Linked DNA regions of Homo sapiens: region 2 is linked to region 1. The links are contacts of gene promoters, found by promoter capture Hi-C in human tissues and cell types (Jung and others, 2019). All regions are on one chromosome and are shown on one strand. Each heading gives the region's core, a stretch centred on a gene start or on the middle of the fragment in contact. The rest is flanking DNA. Distances are from core to core; before and after follow the strand shown.

Region 1 (7,549 bases), core at 1,685-4,184:
TGTAAACTCCCACACTCGACTGCACGCTATGTAAATGGGCAGCCACTGTGTCTGCTAGGTTCACGGCCAAATTCCAAGTGCCGGGCCCACAGTCTGGCACACAGCAGGCTCTCAATCAATATTTGTTGTAGCTGCTATTCAAACCTTACTCATTCTTTACAGGTTGCGCAAAGCCTGCCTCTCTGCAAACATCTTTGGTCTCTCTTCTCTGAAAGGCCCGTGTCTTGCCCATTTCCTGTCCATATGTCTTCGACTACCGGGCCTAGGCTGAGGCACAATCCCCCGAGGTCCCGGCTGTTTATCTGCTGAAAACCTTTTTCCCCAGCGCAGATGGATCACCAAGGACTCCCTCACACTCACTTTCTCTGGTTCTCTGGATACCTCTGGCCGACCTTCCCCACCCCACTGGGTCCTTTCCTCAATTTGCCTTCCTTAGCGGGAGCGGCCGGCGTCTGTTCCTCCCCTACACTCTCCCTCCTCCACCAAATGTAACATGGCCCTGCTTAGGCTTCCTTCTTCAGCACAGAGCCTGGGAGCCAAGCTTCTCCTGTTCCCAGCTGGTCTTCTACCCTCCCCGTTAGGAGAGACTGGACACAGTGGCTCCCCGACGTCTCCAACCCCACCTCCTTCCTTGATGGGCCTGGAGGGCCCTGAGATCACCCTCCCTCCCTTTTACCAACAGAAAAGCCGAGGCCAGAGAAGAATGGATGCTGGCCAAGGCCATATGATGTACACAGAGCCAAAGCCACAGTCCCCTCACCCCGTCCCGGGCCACTGTGGGGACCTAAGCAGTCGTTCCACGGGAGAGGGCGACCCCTGGTGGTGAGGAGGGGCATGGCAGCCTGTCGCTCATTTCCTGGGCCCGGAGGCTGACGGTGGAAGGGGCGTGGCCTGGAGGACCACCGACCCAGGCTTTAGTTATCAGGAAGGTAAATGAAGGCAAGGCCCGCAGAGCGAAAGAACGTGGGAAGTTAGGACAAGTTTTGCTGGGCTTTGCCCTTCCTTAGCCACATTCCCTGTAATGACCTAACAACACTGCTCTGTGACTTTAACTGCACCCTGCTGATTGCTGGTTGGATCTTCAGGGAGCAGGAATGGGCATTCAACAGCTTTTGGCACACTGCATGTCCCAAGGGTCATTACTGACTTGAGGGTCTGGTGCGAAGCCCTGGAATGCAGAAGCTCACATTCTGATAATAAGATTTCTAATAATAAGAGAATGGGCTCAGTCCGGGCACGGTGGCTCATGCCTGTAATCCCGGCACTTTGGGAGGCCAAGGTGGGCTGATCACCTGAGGTCAGGAGTTCGAGACCAGCCTGGCCAACATGGTGAAACCCCGTCTCTACTAAAAATACGAAAATTAGCCAGGCGTGGTAGTGTGCGCCTGTGATCCCATAATCCCAGCTACTGAGGCTGAGGCAGGCTGAGGCAGGAGAACCGCTTAAGCCCGGGAGGCAGAGGTTGCAGTGGACCGAGATTGCGCCACTGCACTCCAGCCTGGGAGACAGAGCGAGACTCTGTCTCAGGAAACAAACAAACAAACAAACAAACAAAACAGAACGGGCTCTTATTAAAGAGTCCAGGGACTGAGTCAATAGCTGTCTCCAAGTTTCTATGGTACCTATCTCTCCTCTCTAGGGGCAAAAGGGCTACTCAACAAAAGGCTGATTGTTTTAACAGAAACACTCAGAAAACCAAACCTTTGAGAACTTCCCAGGCAGAAATAGGCATGCTTAGAGACCACGCGACCAGTTAATATGAACCCCACATCTGCTATCAAGAGAATCTGGGCAATCTACTTTGAATATCCCTTTTGGAGCTGTTTCTAGGTGTTTAGAGATCAAATGAAATATTTCTAGGAAGTAGCTCGCCTCGAACTAACCACACAAGAATGAAATCTCACTGACTTACAAGGTCATGGCTAAACCTTCATTGACTAGGTATTTTCCTCCTTCCTTGATGATCCAGTATGTAGCAGTATATGCCCAGATCAGGAAGTGTAAAAGCTGAAAATGGAGTTGGAGACAGAAAGTCCAATGTGTTGCTGGCCACTGTGGTGTCACTGCTCCCGATACAGGTGTAACCTGAGTCTCCCGCTTGGGAGCCAGAAATCAGCTGAGAAGAGGCCTCTGGAAAGAGGCTGCCCTGGCCCAGAAGGGTGGATGAAGTAGGGCCTCAGCACAGCTCATCCTACCGAGCAGGCCGGACCCTGAGTTCCTGGCTTGCACTGAAGGGTCTGGGTAAGTCCCTTCTGTAGCGCCTCAGAAGCTCCTTGGGCAACCTGGGAAGTTAGGACAAGAGCTCTGACATTTGACCCTGAGGTGTGAGGAGAGTGCTTTGAGAGAGAGGATGCTGAATGCGAGCGCCCTGGTTATTACCTCCTGGCAGCCTCCTAACCTCACCTTGACTCTGCCATGTAAAATTGATGCCTGGGCGCAGGGCGCCGACGATGGTCAGATACCGCGGCCTGCACACCCTGGGACCTACATCCCTGACCTGGAGGACCCAGGCCTTCCCCGGGCTTCACCACGAGTCCTGCCGGCCACACAGGGACCCTAACAGACCTAGTCCAGTCTCAGGGTCTGGGCTGCTCCTCCTTCCAGGAATGGGAGTTTGCTCTAGGCGATGGAGGAAGGGTTCAGGAGGCCACTCTGCCTGCTTAGCAGGCTGTGGGCCCAACCCCCCACCCACCATCTTCATCTCCCACGGCCCCAACCTCGTAGGGAGGGCAGGGCGGGGCTCAGGTTCGCAGAGAAGGAGGGCTCGGACCAGCGACTCCAGGGCAGAGGGGCGCGTGCAGGGGTGGGGAGCTGGGTTTGCGAGGAGAGAAGGCCATCTCTTCCCCAGCAGGGTAGCCCCCACCTAGCTACCGGGATCCCACCCTGGCTGGCGCAATCTTTGCGTCCGGATCAGCACCCAAGGCCCCGCCCAACGGCCCGCTGCCTGCCGGGATTTGTAGTTTGTAGGGGAGGGGCCAAAAGGCGCGCGCGCGCGCGTGTGTGTGTGTGCGTGTGTGACTGTGTGTTTGTGAGACTGTGTGTGTAAGTGTGTCCGGGGGTCTGTTGTGGTGCTCCCGTCCCCGAGGGCCCTCCGGACCTGGGCTCAGCAAAGGCACCACAGGCCGCAGCTTCCGAGACCCCGCCCCGCGGCCCACTGCCTGCTGGGATTTGTAGTTCTTAGGGGTCTAGGGCCCAGGCTGGGGCCGGGTTGGGGCCTTACACGCGTCCTGGCGTGTGGCTCTCCTGCGTCCTCGTTTTTCTCGTGAGCCCTGGATCTGGACAGTGGGCCCGGCGCGAGGCCCTCAACTCCGGCTGGGCTCCCGGTGGCACTTTCTGCCGACCCTGAGATGTACCCGCCACGCCTGCGGGACTGACCTCTAGGTGGGCAAACCGAGGCACAAAGAGGGGCGCGCTCTGGCCGGAGTCGGCCCTCTTGTGAGAATTTGGGCTGGGAGACCCAGCCCAGGCCTGGCAGGCAAGGCTGGGTCAGGCGAGGGTCCTGGGCCCTTTCGGTGTAAGAGTGTGCAAAATAATGAACAGGCCTGCCCAGGACTGGCTCTGCACATTAGCGCTAGTTACCTTACAGGCTTGACTGATCAGATTTTTATTTGGCACCACTACAGAGGGGAGCCCAGGGAGGGAGGAAGTCTCTCGTGACCAAGAAAACCTATGGTCCACCCTGGCCTACAACTCTGCTTTAACGACAAAAATAAACCGAGTTTGGGAGGGGGTGAGGAGGAGGGGTGTTTTGTAAACTGTGAAGTCCAGGTTATGAGTGAGGTGTTATTATCATCAGGATCAGACCTCAAAGCACTGGAGGAAAGGTCTGGGCCTTCAAGAGCCTCACCTCAAAAGGGAGGGTATGGCCGGGCGCAGTGGCTCACGCCTGTAATCCTAGCATTTTGGGAGGCTGAGGCAAGCAGATCACCTGAGGTCAGGGGTTCAAGACCAGCCTGGCCAACATGTCGAAACCCCATCTCTACTAAAAATAGAAAAAATTACCCGGGCGTGGTGGCACGTGCCTGTAATCCCAGCTACTCGGGAGGCTGAGGCAGGAGAATTGCTTGAACTCAGGAGGCGGAGTTTGCAGTGAGCCGAGATGGTGCCACTGCACTCCAGCCTGGGCAACAGAGCCAGACTCTGTCTCAAAAAAAAAAAAAAAAAAAAAAAGAGCTGAGATAGCTGTTTGCATGTGAAAGGACTCACAACTGGCACTAGCATGCGGTGATAGTGGGGAGGGCATGGACTCCCACTACATGGCTCCCATCTATCCTCTGCCGCTTACTAAGTGGGACCTAGAACAAGTGATTTTGACCTACTTTATCTCTCTTTATCTCTGTTTCCTCATCTGTCAAAGGAGGATAATAAGAGGATCCATGTTAGAGAGTAAATGCAAGGATTAAATGAGAAAATCATATCAAGGATAGCACCTGGCATATAGTGGCAGCACACAATAGTGTTAGCTGTTATGGTGTTGAGTACCCAGTGTGACGCTGGCTGTACAGGGGTAAACTTGTCTTCTGGGGGACTAGTCCCCCCATCCCAGGCACCTGGTGCCCTCCCCAGGCCACTCATGCTGTACTGGACAGTCCCACTTTCCCAAGAAGTCACAAGGAATTCCAGCATGTCACTGTTCTGGTTGCCCCTGAGCACCTAGCAGTGATTTAAGAAAAGGCAAAACCAAAGTTTTGGTTTTGAGCTTTATTCGGAAAATATGGCCACCCAGACCCCTGGCCATTCCCCAGGGCCTGTGAGGTGATCCAGAAAAATTCATTTGCAAATCAAATTTAATGGCTAGAAGCATCCTGAATCAATGTCTTCAAATAAATATTTGGGGCCGGTGAGGTGGCTCACACCTGTAATCCCAACACTTTGGGAGGCCGAGGCAGGCAGATCACCTGAGGTCAGGAGTTCGAGACTAGCCTGGCCGAAATGATGAAACCCTGTCTCTACTAAAAATACAAAAAAATTAGCTGGCATAGTGGCGTGCGCCTGTAGTCCCAGATATTCGGGAGGCTGAGGCAGGAGAATCACTTGAACCGGCGGGGGGGAAGGTTGCAGTGAGCTGAGATTGTGCCATTGCACTCCAGCTTGGGCGACAAGAGTGAGACTCTGTCTCGAAAAAAGAAAAAAAAAGGAATATTTGGGGGAATTTTGATGTTAGAATTGAGCATTGCAAAAGATCCCTGTCAGTCCCCCGTGATGAGGAAATGCAACTGCTCAGCCTGAGCTGTGCCTCTCGGTTGGAGTTAGAGGAGCCAGAAGGGACCCTTCGAGTCTAGTGCTTTCATTCACAGATGGGAAACTGAGGCCCAGAGAGGGCCACATGGCAGGGTAGTTAGAAGACAGGTCGAGAACTTGCTAGGAAGAATCTTTTGCAATTTCAGAACTTCTCAGCACTGGAAATGAGTCCATACCCCGAGTTTATGGGCACAGAAGCAGAAAGCTGATTGTCCTGGACATCCCCAGACCTTGGCCAGAGTCCAAGCAGCTAAGCCCAGAAGCCAGTGTCCAGTGCTTCTCTCTCCTGGGTTTCTTCAGCCAGGTGTTCATCCTAGAAGTAGGAGTTTATTAATAATGGTGATGGTATCTTGCATTGTCCAGGCCTTCATTCTTTTTGCGGATCCTCCCGGCTGGGCACAGTGGCTCACTCCTGTAATCCCAGCACTTTGGGAGGCCGAGGAAGGAGGATCACTTGAGCTCAGGAGTTCAAGGCTGCAGGGAGCTATGATCATGCCACTGCACTCCAGAGCCTAGGTGACAGAGTGAGACCCTGTCTCTTAAAAAAAAAGAAAAAAGAAAAAAAGCAGCCTTTCATTGAATCCTCACAACCTTCCAAGGTAGGAGGACTGGGGCTTCTGTTCTCGTTTCACAGATGAGGAATCTGTGGCTAGGAAGTCTTAAGGGATTATCCCGAGGCAACAGAATCTGGGCAGTATTAGAATGTGGGGGTTTTGCTGTCTAATCTGTTAATGCATTCAGTAAAAATTTTTTTGAGTGCCTATTACCTGCTGGGCGCTATGCAGGGTGCTGGGATTGCAAGGATGACTTGACACGGTCCCTGGCTAGAGGTGCTAACATTATGGTGGAGGAAGCACATGGTGGGGAGGGAACTTTCTGGTGTGATAGAAGTGTTTTATATCTTGGTAGGGATGTGGGTTACATGGGTGTTGCATCTGTCAAAACTGATTTAAATGTACACATGATTTGTGCATTTCACTATAAATTTGACCTAAGCAAAACAAAACAAAAACTGAATGCTCTGGAAGGACTATGCCTGGGCACAACCTTGGAGAGGCCTAGTTGTCTGGAAGCAGGCCAGGTTGCCCATGGATCCAAATCCACTTTTGCTATCGGGTGTGCCTGAGAAGTGTTCCCATGGGCGTGTAGATGCAGGTGGCCCAGTGGCTTGATGTCCAGAATACCTGGGGAGCACTGCAGAGGGAGTTTCAGAGGAGGGATATTTAAGCTGAGTCTGCAGAGTGAGCAGAGTTGGTCAAAGGAAGGCAGATAGTAGGCAGCGGGAGGTGGTTTCCGAGGACTCCTTGCTGGAGTGTGCTTGTCTGAGGTCACCCAGATAGAAAGATTGTTTCCTTACCCCAGGCCCCACCCATGGACTTCAGAGAAACTCATTCTGGTTGGGATTTTCGAAGCTGCCTCCCACAAAAGGATCTTACCACTGTGTCACAAGGCCATGGCCTGATCCTCATGCTCTTTGTCAACTGACATCTCTCATGGGTTGGCTATGCCACATTCAGGAGCCAAGGCGGAAGTGTGGACCCATCGCTGTCCAACACATTTCCAGAAGGCCTGGCCTCCTGGTGCAGATGCTTGCTGGCCTGTTTTCCTCTGAATAAAGAAGAGAAGGGTCAGGTGTTGCAGGTCAGATCAGCCTGGGTTAGAATCCTGGTTCAGCAGTTGGGTGCGGTGGCTCATGCCTATAATGCCAGCACTTTGGGAGGCCAAAGCAGGAGGATCACTTGAGCCCAGGAGTTTGAGACCAACCTGGGCAATAGAGTGAGACACAGTCTCTCCAAAAAAAAAAAAAAGTTTAGCTGGGCGTGGTGGCATATGCCTGCAGTCCCAGCTACTCAGGAGGCTGAGGCTGGAGGATTGCTTGAGCCTGGGAGGTTGAGGCTGTAGTGAGCTGTGATCACAGCACCGCACTCCAGGTGCCGCGACAGAGTGAGACCCTGTCTCAAAAAAAAAAAAAAAAATCTTAGTTCTGCTACTGAACTAGCAATGTGACACTCTGGACAAGTTAGTTACCCTCTCTGAGCCTCCCAAAGACTTCATGTTTCCAGCAGGAATAATGATAGTAGATGTGAGGACGCACCAAGCACATAGTAGGCTCTCACAGAACAGTAGCTGTTCACAGGGTGATTGAGGCCGGGGGCCTAACGATTGAATGGAAGTGAACACTGCAATTCTCTCGCAAAGTTTACAGCACAGTAAGCTTGTCCTTAGCTTCCCCTATACCCTCCTTCCCACGCCCAATTCTAGGACCCTTTCGGGCGCCCCAGCCTCCCATAGGGGCTCCCCGCCAGCT
Region 2 (7,549 bases), core at 3,230-5,729, 51 kb before region 1:
TATATAAATATAAATATATACATAATATATGTAGGCAACTTTCATGTGGTTCAATCTTGTTTCTTTCTATATTTTTTCTGAACCATTTGAAAATATGTTGAGAACTTCATATTACTTCACCCCAAAATACTTAGGCATCTCCTAAAAATCAGGATATTCTGATAATAAACACTATTATCACATCAAAGAAAATTACCCTTAAGTCACCTGAGAAAATTCCATAGTGAAACCTAATATATATACCATATTCACATTTCTATGGTGGTCCCTGAAATGTGTTCCATAGCTGAATTTTTGAACTAGGATTCAATCATGGTTTACACATTGTGCTTGGTTATTATGTCCCTTTGGTCTCACATACATTATTTATAAAAGAAGAATTCTCAGCCCTGTGTCCATGGTCGCCAGGGGATCACCAAAAGTCCTGAGAGCTAACAGATGTGTGTGTGTGTGTGTGTGTGTGTGTGTGTGTGTGTGTATAGATGTGCTTTTTTTCTGGAAAGACAACCCAAAGTGTTGCTTAGATTCTCTACGTAGCGTCCACCAAAGATTGAGCACTAGTGATGTAAAAGTCACAGATGATTGATTTGAAGAGGGAGAAAACCCAAACTCATGACTGAACAGTAGTCCACCAGGAGGCTGGATATGCAGGGAGTGATACAGCTTTAGACAAGTAATGAAATCTCTTTGTTCATCTCTAATTTGGGGACGGTAATATTTGTATATCAACCTCAGTGGAAAGATGCATGTGAAAAAATGTTGTACCATCAAAATCTATACCAACATTAGTTACTAAAACTACAGGGAATTCAAGTTCCTGAGACCTTTGCACATGGGCCTCTGCCCACATTGCAGTGAGAGAGAAGGTATGAAGTCTCAGGCTGGTTTCTTGGAGTTCCCCATTCTCTTCACACTCGGGGTGATGGAACCCAGAGACAAGACAAGGTCTGGGCTCATCTCTTGGGCAGGGTAACACCTGCATGTTCACACATCAGTTGCTCTTGTCTTGTCTGGCGGGGGCCCGATTGGCAGCTTGGCTAGACTCCTGCCTAGAAATGGGATGGAATGGGAATAGGCCAGGACTTGTCACTTACTCCCACTAGAGCCCTTTCTCCAAATCTTTATATTCCCTCTTTTACCATAGGTAGCTTGTGAAAGTTACTTCAATACCTTTCCTATGGAAAACAGTAATCTTAGTTTCCCATGCTTCTTCCAGAGGCCTTGGAGTATTGGGCATTTTGTAAGGAAATTTGTACCGAGGCAGGGCTGGGTATGGTGAAGGGGCTGGGATCAGGACCTAGGCTTCCTTGGCCAACTGTTTTAACCAAGTAAGGTAAGAATGATCAATACCAGGTGGCCTATGAAAACTGGAGGCCGCCCCCCACCCCACCAAAGATTTCAGTTGAGGAGAAAGAGCTATAAAGCCATATGAGCTATATTTTAATAAAACATGAGCTTTATAGATAATAAGCTTAGGAAGATTTAGTTGGGTGAATTCCTAATAATACTTCCTCCAAGTTCTACGCCAGCTTTTGTTCTCAAATGCCAGGTGTGAATTTCTCAATGTAATGTCTTTATGAAACATGGCAAGTTTAAACATAACCATTCCACTACTGCTCTCCTCTGAATTCTGTTTTATGTTTTCAGAATGGTTAAAAACAAAGGAAGAATCTTTAAAAAAGTGTTTGTTAATCTCTCAATAACTTTCTACTTAATAGCTAGGAACTCGACCAAGCTATGTGATCTTTATAAAACCTTAGACTACTTGAGAGCTGGTAAGAAGATAAAGTTCAACAGATGTGAGTTTGGATTAGCTGGTGACCTAAAGGTTGGTAAGCTATTTAACATCTCTAAGCCTTTCTGTCCTCACTTGTAAAGGGGAATACGAAATTTATTCAGTAAATACGTTTTGAATGCTTGCCACATACCAGGCCCTGTTGTAGGCACCAGGGATACAAGGATAAACAAGACGAGCTTCCCGCTCTCATGGAACTGATCACAGAACATGAATATTCAACAAGAAATTACATAATTAATTGTAGTTTATGCCAACTGCAATAACAGCACCTACCCCAGCAGACGTTGTGAGGATTAAATGAGTCAATGTGCAGTCAGACACATTCAAAACTGTTGTCATAATACTATTTATAAAATCACATGGGCAATAGAGTCTTGCTAACAGTCCTAAATAGTATAAATGCATGTTGGGTATTAGATCCTCTTTTGTTTTTCACATATATTTAAATGGCAACTTGGTTGTGGGTCCCTTATAACAAATAGGAAGGCATGCTTTCCCTTGATGTTGGAGACACGGTCTTACCAACCTAAGGAAGGATGAAGCTGAACTTGTTTATTGCTGTCAAAAAGAGCAGTTCAGGCTGGGGGTACTGGCTCACACCTGTAATTCCAGCACTCTGGGAGGCTGAGGAGAGTGGATCACATGAGGTCACAAGTTCGAGACCAGCCTGGCCAACATGGTGAAAATACAAAAAATTAGCTAGGCGTGGTGGCAGGCATCTGTAATCCCAGCTACTCCGGAGACTGAGGCAGGAGAATTGCTTGAACCCGGGAGGTGGAGGTTGCAGTGAGCCAAGATCGCGCCACTGCACTCCAGCCTGGGTGGATGACAAGAGCGAAACTCCATCTCAAAAAAAAAAAAAAAAAAAAAGAACAATTTAGCATTGCCATTAACTGGATCAGCAATGCCTAACCCGTAAGTCTTGAGTCCTAGGGGAGTGGGGGGTTAGGGCACAGAGTCTTTGCCAAATGTTCCTAAATCCTTACATGTCCTAAGTATTGTCTGTAGAATGAAAATATCTTTTGCCTACATATGGACATTGTCATAATCTATGTAGCTGCTGATGGGATGAATACAGTATAGCTTCCTTTAAATGAGTCACTGAAGTTTTACTGTGCCCAGCATTTTTTCATTATGTATTTTCTCAGTCAAATCTTATCCTGGGCAGGCTGCAGTGGCTCATACCTGTAATCCCAGTACTGTGGGAGGTAGAAGCAGGAGGATTGCTTGAGACCAGGAGTTTGAGACTAGACTGGGCACTCAGTGAGACCCTATCTTTACAAAACAATATTAATAAAAAATAAACCAGACGTGGGGGCATGCACCTGTGGTCCCAGCTATTCGAGAAGCTGAGGCTGGAGGATCACTTGAGCCCAGGAGGCAGAGGCTGCAGTGAGCTACGATTGCACCACTGCACTTCAGCCTGGGTGACCGAGCAAGACTCTATCAGAAAAAAAAAAAAATTATCCTGCCTTTTCCTGGCTGAAACCCTTTAACAGTTCCTCATTTGTCTCAGGATAAAGTCCAAATTCCCTCCCAGGCACAACAAGACTCTGTTGACCTTTCCTGGCATAGTGCCTGCCCCACCTCCCTCCCACCCCCATCCCACCCCCATCCATCAAGTTCTGACATGAAGCCTCTTCCAGGCCGTGGCATAGAGCCCTGGGGCCCAATTCACATATGCGGGCATCAACAGACCCAGAGCTCCTGAATAGGAGAAATACCCACAGCTCTAGCAGGTGTCATGCCAGCTGAGGTGGCACCAGTCCACTGGGGCACCGGATGCGGGTGGGCCTCCCCTCACAGTAACTTCTTCCTCCAGTTGCCGTTGTATCAACCCTGCCTCGCCGCTGCCCCACCACCACTCCACAAGCCAGTTTCTGAATTAAAGCCATTTTCCTTTCAGGGGTTTTAAAAATAAGCAATCCTGGAAGTAATAAAGCTTCTTGATTATCAGTTTTCCATGGACTCGCTTTCTTCAGTGTTATTTGGAAACCCAAGGTCCATAATGCCAGTGCCTTCACAGGCTGTGTATGTGAATTATTTACCCCCTGGAGAAAGTCATAGACAGCTGCAGCGAGGGAGTGATAAAAGTATTTTTTGGCCGGGCACGGTGGCTCACACCTGTGATTCCAGCACTTTGGGAGGCCAAGATGGGCGGATCACCTGAGATCAGGAGTTCGAGACCAGCCTGGCCAACATGGCAAAACCCTGTCTCTACTAACGATACAAAAATTAGCCGGGCATGGTGGCAGGCACCTGTAATCCCAGCTCCTTGGGAGTCTGAGATAGGAGAATCGCTTGAACCCGGGACGTGGAGGTTGCAGTGAGCCAAGATCATGGCCACCGCACTCCAGCCTGGGTGACAAGAGCAAAACTCCATTTCAAAAACAAACAAGCAAACCAAAAAATGCCGGGCACAGTGGCTCACAACTGTAATCCCTGCCCTTTGGGAGTCTGAGGTGGGCAGATCACTTGAAGTCAGGAGTTCAAGACCAGCCTGGCCAACATGGTGAAACCCCGTCTCTACTAAAAATACAAAAATCAGCTGGGCGTGGTGGCAGGAGCCTATAATCCCAGCTACCTGGGAGGCTGAGGCACGAGAATCACTTGAACCCGAGAAGCAGAGGTTGCAGTGAGCTGAGATGACACCACTGCACTCTAGCTTGGGCGACAGAACAAAACACTGTCTCAAAAAAAAAAAAAGTAGTTTATTTTTTACTCTTCTCCTCACCTTAAAACTCTCCAAAAATGAAAAAGAGAAACAACTCCATCTTTTAAAAGATGAGGAAAAAAGAGAGTAATCACTCCAGTTATTAGTTTGAAATATTGTTCCAACAAAAGAATATACTTAACATGTATGTAGTTTCACTAATAACAAAAATGAAAACATGTACCTATTAACCAGCTTTAAGAAAATAGAAGCCGGGCTTGGTGGTGTGCTCCTGTAGTTCCAGCTACTTGGGAGGCTGAGGTGGGAGGATCCCTTAAGTCTGGGAGTTCAAGGCCAGCTTGAGCAACATAGCAACACCCTGTCTCAAAATAAAAGAAAATGGAATTTAACTGGTGACTTTGAAGACTGCTTTGTGCCCCTCCTCAGTCACCTCTTCCTCTCCCTCCTGTGATAACCACCATCCTGAATTTGACTTAATAATAATTCCCTTCTTTTCCTGAGTGTTATTCTTCGTGTATATTTTCCCACACAATATGTTTCAGTTCCAGGGAACTTTTGCATTTTATATAAATGAAATCATTCAGTCAAGTATATAGTCTTCTGTGACTAACTTTTTTCACTTAACTGTGTTTTTAAGACTCAACTGCGGCCGGGTGTGATGGCACGCTGCCTGTAATCCCAGCACTTTGAGAGGCCGAGGCAGGCAGATCACTTGACATCAGGAGTTCAAGACCAGCCTGGCCAATGTGGTGAAATTCCATCTCTACCAAAAATACAAAAATTAGCCGGGCATGGTGGCGTGCACTTGTTATCGCAGCTACTCGGGAGGCTGATGCAGGAGAATCGATTGTTACAGTGAGCCGAGATTGCGTCACTGCACTCCAGCCTGGAGGACAGAGTGAGACTCTGCCCCCCCCACACACACACATACACACACACCCAACTACTACCATGTGCAGTGATAGTTTCACTCATTTTCACTGAAGAATTGTGTTCGATGATATGAGTATGTGACGTATTTACTCATCCTCCTGGTGACAGTCATTTGCATGTTTTCAGCTTTTTGCTATTACAGACAGTGCTGAACATTCCTGTACCTGTCTTTAGCTTCAAAGGCTAGGTGGCGGCACAATTCCAAACTGCCACGTATAGATAAGGGCACTGCTCTGGAAGGCCCAACTTAACGATCCATTGTTTAGAACCACAAAAGGCAAGCAGCTGGAATGACTCCAGAGAAGTCAGCTCCACCCTGCAGGCTGCAGGGAGTGGGAGAGGTGGAACTAACAGAGAAGTTATGTGTAGATCCATGTTAACCATCTATGTCTCAGCCTCCCAGCTGAGAAAACTGCTGCTGGAGAGGGAGCCAGAGGAGAGGGCCTGAGGGAACAGCAATCATTAGAAAGTCTATCTTAGAGTCTGTTGCTACACTGCCCTCCTACATCCTGAAAAGAAGGGATATGGCCCAAGACAGAGGAGAAAACACATTTGGTGATAGGTTGTTTGAAAAAAAAAGTCAGCTGAAAACTGTGGTCTGTTCCAGGTCACTTGCCTCATCTTTCTCTAGATTAATTTTTAACCAATAACTGGTCTCTTTCAAAGATGAGCAATGATCAGAAAGACCTTTGTATAATTAATGCAACTTCCAGTTAAACGAGGTGGTATTTTTATCCTCCCCCACCCAAAACCCTACTGAAAGGCCAGTGAAGGAATAGAAAGGGCCTATCCTCACCGTCACCCACGTGAGTCAGGAAACATCAGTAGCTGAGAGAAGCAACTAAGGTAGCAAAGCGCAGGAAGATATGGTTTGACACGTCTGCAGACTCCATGAAGGCACCAGAGACTGTGTGTAAGGTGGGGGTGGAAACAGCTGAATATTGAATTGCTAGATCATAGGCCCCTTCCTCCCCTCCTTAAAGCCAGGGTGACCACCAGCCTGAGCAGGAAACTGGGGATTCGGGCCTCGAAGGAACTAAATCCGAAAGGCTCTTGACTTGGGGACACAGACCTTAAGGGGGCCAGTAAATTATGTGGAATTAGAAACACAGGGATTAAGAGGAGGTCTGGCTGGGCACGGTGGCTCAAGCCTGTAATTCCAGCACTTTGGGAGGCCTAGGTGTGCAGATCACTTGAGGTCAGGAGTTCGAGACCAGCCTGACCAACAGTACAACCCCATCTCTACTAAAAATACAAAAATTAGCTGGGCGTGGTGCCACATGCCGGTGGTCCCAGCTACTTGGGAGGCTGAGGCAGGAGAATGGCTTGAGCCTGGGAGGCAGAGGTTGCGGTGAACCAAGGTCGCACCACTGCACTCCAGTCTGGGCAACAGAGTGAGACTCTGTCTCAAAAAAATTAAAATGAAAATGAAAATTGTGCAGCAGTTTGACTCCAATGATAAATTACTGTAAACAACAGAAATGTCCATGAATAGGGGATCGGATTAAACAAAATGTGATATATTGTGCCAATGGAATGCTACTTAAATAATGTGAGAGTAGTATATTTGATGACATAAAAACATGCATGGCATGTATGACATGAAGAAAGCAGATTACAAAATAGCATGTCAGACCAGGCACTCTGACTCACGCCTGTAATCCCAGCACTTTGGGAAGCTGAGGCAGGTGAATCGCTTGAGGTCAGGAGGTAGAGACCAGCCTGGCCAACATGGCAAAACCCCATCTCTACTAAAAATACAAGAATTAGCTGGGTGTGGTGGTGTGTGCCTGCAATCCCAGCTGCTCAGAAGACTGAGACATGAGAATTGCTTGAACCTGGGAGGCGCAGATTGCAGTGAGCCGAGATGGTGCCACTGCACTCCAGGCTGGGCAACAGAGTGAGACTCTGTCTCAAAAAAAAAAAAAAAATAGCATGTATATGGTAATCTCATTTTGTGAGGAAAAAATATGTATGTATCTGTCTGGAAGGCTAAATACCAAATGTTAACCATGGCAGGGAAAAAAGTAAATTTGTTCCCTGAATGGTGAAACTTCCATTCACTTTGCCCCTTCCTTCACTTTGCTCCTAGATCATAAGTGGTCCCCACCTGCTATAGTTTAAATGTGTCCCCCAAAGTTCAT

What was found. The method cuts DNA at HindIII sites, captures the fragments that hold promoters and counts their contacts. A contact is called where the count stands out against the background at its distance.
Region 2: a fragment that was not itself captured here is called in contact with the fragment with the promoter of SH2D6 in region 1 in 1 of the 25 tissues and cell types used here (liver).

Annotation. Positions count from the first base shown.
Region 1 is chr2:85,414,099-85,421,647 of GRCh38, reverse strand. It overlaps SH2D6 (SH2 domain containing 6), which reads right to left and starts at 2,934. Exons shown (of 24, transcript NM_001394463.1): 1 at 2,718-2,934; 2 at 2,404-2,619. It overlaps LOC105374841 (a long non-coding RNA gene), which reads right to left. Exons shown (of 3, transcript XR_940316.3): 2 at 6,678-6,849; 3 at 4,687-5,554. It also overlaps a transcript of CAPG not described here. RefSeq lists enhancers at 936-1,085, 3,314-3,473, 2,952-3,487, 3,484-3,593 and a silencer at 7,522-7,549. The HindIII fragment of the contact is 13,378 bases long and covers 1-7,549 here.
Region 2 is chr2:85,466,998-85,474,546 of GRCh38, reverse strand. No RefSeq gene overlaps it. Among named protein-coding and RNA genes, the nearest start is that of SH2D6, 52 kb to the right of the region's middle. The HindIII fragment of the contact is 3,746 bases long and covers 2,607-6,352 here.